2 separate regions of the Homo sapiens genome follow, and region 2 is linked to region 1. Evidence: promoter capture Hi-C in 16 types of primary human blood cells and fetal thymus (Javierre and others, 2016). All regions are on one chromosome and are shown on one strand. The core of a region is centred on a gene start or on the middle of the fragment in contact, and the rest is flanking DNA. Distances in the headings are between cores, read along the strand shown. Region 1 holds the start of RPS4Y2 (ribosomal protein S4 Y-linked 2). Region 2 overlaps LOC107987346 (a long non-coding RNA gene).

What was found. The method cuts DNA at HindIII sites, captures the fragments that hold promoters and counts their contacts. A CHiCAGO score of 5 or more calls a contact.
Region 2: a fragment that was not itself captured here is called in contact with the fragment with the promoter of RPS4Y2 in region 1 in 1 of 17 cell types (naive B cells); the score reaches 6.5 in naive B cells.

What each region holds. Positions count from the first base shown.
Region 1 is chrY:20,754,450-20,758,085 of GRCh38, forward strand. RPS4Y2 (ribosomal protein S4 Y-linked 2) reads left to right here and starts at 1,659. Exons shown (of 7, transcript NM_001039567.3): 1 at 1,659-1,717; 2 at 2,329-2,406. The coding sequence starts at 1,715. The HindIII fragment of the contact is 1,374 bases long and covers 415-1,788 here.
Region 2 is chrY:21,247,251-21,250,886 of GRCh38, forward strand. LOC107987346 (a long non-coding RNA gene) reads left to right here. Exons shown (of 4, transcript XR_007068467.1): 3 at 3,300-3,458. LOC107987347 (a long non-coding RNA gene) reads right to left here. Exons shown (of 3, transcript XR_001756079.2): 3 at 815-1,900. Among named protein-coding and RNA genes, the nearest start is that of PRORY, 200 kb to the right of the region's middle. The HindIII fragment of the contact is 1,550 bases long and covers 1,152-2,701 here.

The sequences.
Region 1 (3,636 bases), core at 409-2,908:
GCCTAAAATAATTTCTTAATAACTCCTACCACAAAAGCAGCAAAGGGACCTAAGTAATGGCAAAAGGAGTCTAGGAGTCTCAGAATAGAAGAGGTGAATACTAGTACAGAGCAAACAGTGTGGAGTTCAGATCTATTCCAGCCTGCTGTCTTGCTAGCTGGCACATACAGTGCCTATAGACTTGAATCAAGGAATTGAATGCAAAGACAAACAAAACATAACAACAAAAACATTTTAGGCACTGTTACGCGCTTACAAATTGGTAAAAATGGTCGATGTTACTGTGTTGTGTTCTCTCTACAGTTAAAGGAAAAAGAAAAGAAAAGCTGGAGGCCAGGCTTGGTGGCTCATGCCTGTAATCCCAGCACTTTGGGAGGCAGAGTCGGTGGTTCATGAAGTCAGGAGTCTGACACAAGCTTGGCCAACACAGTGAAACCCTGTCTATACTAAAAGTACAAAAAAACAGCCAGGCCTGGTGGCGGGCGCCTGTAATCCCAGCGACTCAGGAGGCTGAGGCAGGAGAATGGCTTTAAGCCAGGAGGTGTAGGTTGCAGTGAGCCGAGATCGCGCCATTGCATTCCAGCCCCGGCGACAGTGCCAGACTCCGTCTCAATAAATAAATAAATAAATAAATAAAAATAAAAATTCCGTAAAGTGCTGGCAGGTGCCTGTGGGTCTCAGCACTGTGGGAGGCTGAGGTGGGAGGAACACTCAACCCCCGGAAAGTCGAGGCTGCCGGGACCTGAGATGGCGCCCCTGCCCTCCACCCGGTGCGACAGAGCCAGACCCTGCCACATTCAAAAACACAATAAAAGAAAGAAAGAAAAGGAAAAGAAAAAGAAAAAGAAAAGAAATACCTAGAAAATAACACAAGGAAATTTTTGATGGTGATGGAGATGTTTATTACCTCGATTGTGATGATGGTTCCGTGGGTTTACGCCTATGTCCGAACTCGTCAAACGGTACAGATTAAGGAAGTCCATTTGGCTGGTTGTGTTTTGTATAGCAATTCCACCTCAATAAAGCTGTGACATCACACACATGCGAGCGTGGTACAACTTACATAGCCGAGTTCACCTTTTTAAAAGTGAATTGTTTTGGAGGTTTTAGGGACATGCACAGAGTTGTGCAACCATCACCTCAAGTTAATGCAAAACAAGGTATTGAACTTACAATTCACGTCCCATAAAACCTACCCTTTCAAAGTTGACAATACAGACGATTTTAATACATTCTCAAACCTGTGAAATTGGCCCTAATTCAGAAAAACGAATTGTTTCTTAAATCATGATTTTACAATACAACATGTCACAGTCACAAGGAATCATACAGGTTATTTCTTAACGATTGGCTTTTTTTTTTTTAAGGCGGCTAAATCCTGCTCCTTCAGAGCTTCTGTTAAATATTTTTAAAGTTGGCGAAAGATAATTTTTAGAGTGTAAACTGCGTCCTCCCAGCTTAGCCGACCTGAGGGGAGGAAGCACAACAAAAAGTCCCGTGGCATAACTGACACCTATGAATCAGTATCAGAAACTGAATATGCTAAGAAACTCAGTTCCGAGCTGTGACCTCTACAACGGAAGAATAATAGGTTGGTTACCCGAGGCGGAATCTGGAACTGAAATTCTCACTCATTTGACTTCCCGCTGTTTATCACCGCAGATTACGGTTGCACCGTAAAAGGAGAGGTTCTGTTCCGTCGCGGGATTTCGCCATGGTAAGACGTCTGCGTCCTAGCTCCGGATTTATCTGCCTCCATCCTTTGAAGAAGGGCCTTCCATCTTGGCAAGCTTTTACTTTTCGGGTACCGCTGCTTGGCGGGTGGGAATGCTGCTGGTGCTGCTTCAGGAAACCCGATTTGGAGAGCGGAGGTCTGAGAAGAGTGCGGCTGGGGGTTCCGGGCTGGCCCTTGTGCTCGGCCTGGGCGCCGGTGGTGCTGTTGGCACGTGAGTCTTGTTAGGAATAAGCTTCCTCGGCTAACCTTACAAGTCCACCCTTGACTCCGCAGCCCAGCACTGGCTTTTTACGCGGGTTAGCTTATATCCATACGTTGAAGCAGTCTCAGATTCGCTTGGAGAGCACTGTGGACGCTGTCTTGACAGACGCCAGAGAGACTCGTGAGGTTGTCAAAGGTCTGGGAGTTTTGCGGGGTTTGTTCTGGAGTCTGGCAGGAAGTAATATTTGCTCAAAACTGGGCGTGAAATAGCCTGGACTGTCCTTTCTCCTCCGATCCGGTATTACCCGTTAGCAGTTGTTACAGCTGAAGATAAAGACATTTTACTGTTAACTGAGACGAGTTTCTCTGAAAAAGTTTGGTGTCTTTTTCAGGCCCGGGGCCCCAAGAAGCACTTGAAGCGTGTTGCAGCGCCGAAGCATTGGATGCTGGATAAACTAACTGGTGTATTTGTGAGTATAACTGTATTTGCTTTTTACTCAAAAGTGCATGCTGTGTACCTGTGGCTTGCTATTTCGTGGGAACACTGTTTGCTTATTTATGTGAGATTTTCGTTGGTGAAGACTTGCTGCACACGGAACTTGTCCTTGCACTGTAATGAAAAGGTCCCTGAGAAAAAAGTTAGGACATCCTGTTTGGAAACAGCGGGTCGAACAGCTCTCTGACCTCAACTTTGAGCACTATTGTGGTCCATAATGTCGCTGAGAACCTGGGCTTGCCATCTTTTAGTAACTATTGAGAGCCTAATACATGCCAGGTGTTGTTATGTGGGCCCACCCTTAAGGATATGTCCGGGTACAAAATGGTTGGACAACAAAATCTATCCCTCTTTCTTGTTGAAGCTTACATCCTGCTGGGAGGAGAGGGAAGTTACAGTATGTTCACAGGTGCTGAAGGCTGGGGGGAGAAAAAAGTAGGGCTGTTGGAAGGATCAATGGGGTTTTGAGCACTGCAGTTTTAAAGAGTGTGAAATAAAGAAGCCTCTTACAGAAGAACAGAAAGACATAAGTGAGTGAACTATTGGACATGTTTGGGGTTTTTTTTTTTTTTTTTTTTGAAACTGAGTCTTGGCTTGTCACCAGGCTGGAGTGCTGTGGCATGATCTTAGCTCACTGCAACCTCTGCCTCCGGGTTCAAGCGATTCTCATGCCTCAGCCTCCCCAGTAGCTGGGATCTTTTAGTCACCACGCCGATCTAAATTTTGTATTTTTAGTAGATACCAAGTTTCACCCTGTTGGCCAAGATGTTCTCAATTTCCTGACCTTCTGATCCACCCGCTGGTGGCCACTCCCACAGTGCTGGGATTATAAGCATTAGCCATGGCGCCCCTCATATTTTCAAAAGAGCTGTTAGGCTGCTGTGTTGTGATTTATTCAAATTGTGTTATATCATGAACCCATTTCTTGAGGCTTGTGCTCTCAAGGATTAAAAATGCCAACAGCAACAACAAAACACCAGGATGTCAAGTCCTGGTGGTCTCTTTTGCTGTTTGAGCTCTCCACTTTAGAGGGCACTTCCTGAACCCAGACCTGAGGGGATTAATGAATGTGCTAAATTCCAGATAAGAAAGGGTTCAGTGACAGTGCACTGAGTCCCCATTAATAATAAAATGTATTTAATTTGAAGTTACCCTTTGTTTCAGAGGGTGGAGTAGCTGCTGTTTACATTGAGCCCAAGATACG
Region 2 (3,636 bases), core at 677-3,176, 490 kb after region 1:
TAGGACTGACTTGGGCTCTCATCAGCCTTTTTAAGGACCTCTGAAATTTTTCCTATGTTCATTGCCTTTTTCCCTTCAGCTTTTATCCCATTTAAGAGTGCTTCCTGATATCTCTGCAGGCAGAGCTGCTCTTTTGCCTCATTTGGGTTCCAATTTGGGTCTGTCTCTGAGAACTGTTCCTGGGCATACCACCAGACATCATGTGTGCCATCAGGTGCATTGTTCTCTATCCACTGGAGGGCCTCTTTGGACACCCTCTGATGCTCCTTTGTATTGAACCATGTCAGAAGGAGCTGCTGGCAGTCTGGCCAGGTAGAATTGCGAGTCAGAAAAATGGACCGCAACAGGTCTATTACAGACTGGGGCTTCTCTGTATAGGATGGAGTATGCTGTTCCCCATTTAGGTGGTCTGTGATGGAGAAAGGCTGGTAGACAAAAATTCACTGCCCACCCCGGACCCGGCCTTGTTCATAATAATACGTCTGTGCTCGAGTCTCATGGAAGAGCATTTGCAAGGCTTGGGTGCAGCCTGACCAGAAGTGGCTTGCTGTTTAATCCTGCCTTTCCTCTTTGGTTTTTATGGGCAGGGGCTCAGGATCCCCTCCATGGGGTTATGCTGCTTGAGACTCACTTTTCTCTGAGCCTGATTCCTCGAGGGCCATTTGCTTTCTGCCTTGTCTTAGCCCTGACAAGGATGGGTGTATTGGAGCATAAGAAGGAGGAAACTTTCTTTCCTTGGAAAGCGTTTGGAAGACTGTTTTTTCCTGACTACTCTGTTGCTTTTTCTTCTCCTCTGAGGCTCCTATTGAGATAGACTTCTCAACTTCCTTAGGTATAGCTCAGGCTACCAGAGACTTACAATAACTTGTCAAATAAGGTTGTATCCATTTGGGATGTGTTAGAACCATGTTCAACCAGGAATCAATATATGGGAACTGATCTAGATTCCCAGGCTGTTCTCCAACCCCTGTCACTTCCTTAAACACATGGCCAATTTCTTCCCTATCTATTGTGTCTTTGGCAGGCCACACAACATTAAAAGAAGGCCAGTCTAATTCACAGAGAGTTCTCAACCTTTGGGGGGTCAGTTTTACCCCATAATCTCCTCCAAAGCGTTTCCCAGAATTATTTAACATGCACTCCAATGGAGAAGCTTTTGATGATTTTCCTCCCATTCCTCCTTTTATGACACACACTCACTCTACCTTTTGTTACAGACTGATCAGACTGGTTCCTATTACGGGAATTTCATGCACTGCTTAGCTAGGACAGTATCGTATTCCCACTGCAGCTGCTGCAGCTGTAGGGCAGCTCCTGTCAGCCTTATACAGATCGCTCTAGATCTGGTCAGCCACACACTGGCTCCAGAGCCCACAGTCCACATTAAGAGATCTGTGCCTTCACCTGTCATGCCCCATGTTGGCCCTTCCCAGAACTGTCTCTTTAATGTGCTTTCACATGCCTCTTCACTCCCAGTTCACGTTTTTTAATTAGGGTGGCAACTCATTCTTGCTACGTCTAGTTTCAGTTTTTATTTTCCTAAACTGACTTAGTGAGCCTCTTTCATGTGCTGTGACAGTTAGGTTGTAAGTTTCATCCAAACTGGCAGGTCACTCCCACTTTCCTCAGCCCCTCTGTGTTAGACGAGTAGTCACACCCTGGGAAGTGATTAGGCCCCCGTTTCATCCTTATGGGATGGGTCTTGACTTGGGGCTTCAGGCCTTACCACGTTTTTGAAGAATGCACGCAGCTCCTGGAATTGTCCTGTAGCCCCTTTGCCAGTTCCATTGTGCTGTTAGGGAAGGGCACCGGGATGCAGGAGAGCTGGTCTCCTCTCCAGTCTGAAGTTCTCCTGTCAGTGCCTAGGATTTCAGGTATCCCCTGCTCTTGGGCTCCAGTCCTATGGGCAAAGGAGACAGAACATTTGCCATCTCCAATCCTGGATGAGCCCCTAGAAAATGTTACAGGAAATCAGAGACTGGAGAGACTGATGGGGTCAAAGGACGATTTATTATTTAAGGTATACACTGGCTCAGTGGACTAGTGTCCAGAAAGTCTGAGCACCAAACAAACAAGGCAAGTATCTTTTATGCAGTTTTTGTTTTTTGACGCAGAGTCTCACTCTGTCACCCTGGCTGGGGTGCAGTGGTGTGATCTCAGCTCACTGCAAGTTCCACCTCCCGGGTTCACACCATTCTCCTGCCTCAGCCTCCTGAGTGGCTGGGACTACAGGTGCCTGCCACCATGCCTGGCTAAGTTTTTGTATTTTTAGTAGAGACGGGGTTTCACCTTGTTAGCCAGGATGGTCTTGATCTCCTGACCTCGTGATCTGCCTGCCTCGGCCTCTCAAAGTGCTGGGATTATAGGCATGAGCCACTGCTCCCGGCCTTTTATGCATCTTAAGGCAGGCAGTACATGAGGCAGGAAGCAGGCTTACAGAAGCGAGAACAAAAGCAGTTAATCATCTGTGACACGTCTTACATCTTTGATAAAACATGTTTTACAGCTAGTGGTTATCTATCTTGTGACCTTTCAGCTGTTCAGCAGTAAAACAGAAACTTAGAGAACTTACAAAATATGCAGAGGGTAGATATGGTTAATATTTCACAGAGAAGTAGTTAGTATTCTTTCTTAACTCGTACTTTGGAAGGGGGCTATTTGAGGCCTATTCCATCCTAACTCTAACAACAATTTTTAAGCAAGCTTTAATTTTCTTTTAATTTTCTACTTCACATTCCTTTTCTTTTCTCTAACCTTGTCTTCATGTTTTATTTCAGTAAGCTCTTCTTCAACCTCTAATATCCTTTCTTCCACCTGATTAATCTGGATATTGATACTTGTGTATGCTTCACAAAGGTTTTAGCACTGTTTTTCAGCTCCTTCAGGTCATTTATATTCTTCTCTAAACTGGGTATTCTAGTTAGCAATTTCTGTCACCTTTTATAAAGGTTCTTAGCTTTCTTGCATTGGGTTAGCACATGTTCCTTTAATTCAGAGGAGTTTTTTATTACCCACCTTCTGAAGTCTACTTCTATCAACTCATGAAACTCATTCCCCATCCAGTTTTCTGCCCTTGCTGGAGAGGAATTTCAATCATTTGGAGAAGATGAGGTATTCTGGTTCCTTAAATTTTCAGCATGTTTTTTGTTTTTTTTTTCTTATCTTCATGGATTTATCTGCCTTTGCTCTTTGAGGCTGATGATCTTTGGACAGGTTTTTTTAGTGGGGGTCCTTTTGTTGATGGTGATATTGTTTCTTTCTGTTTGTTTTTTTCTAACGGTCAGGTCCCTCTTCTGCAGGTCTGCTGCAGTTTGCGGGAGGTCCACTCCAGACCCTGTTTGCCTGGGTGTCACCAGTGGAGGCTGCAGAACAGAAAGGATTGCCACCTGCTCCTTCCTCTGGAAGCTTCATCCCAGAGGGACACTGGCCTGATGCCAGCCACAGCTCTCCTGTACAAGGTGTCTGTCTACTCCTGTTTGGTGGTATCTCCCAGTTAGGAGTCATGGGTGTCAGGGACCTACTTGAGCAGGTAGTCTGTCCCTTAGCAGAGCTGGAGCACTGTGCTGGGAGAATCCTTCTTGACAGATGCTGCTCTCTTCAGAGATGGCAGGCAAGAATATTTAAGTATGCTGTTGC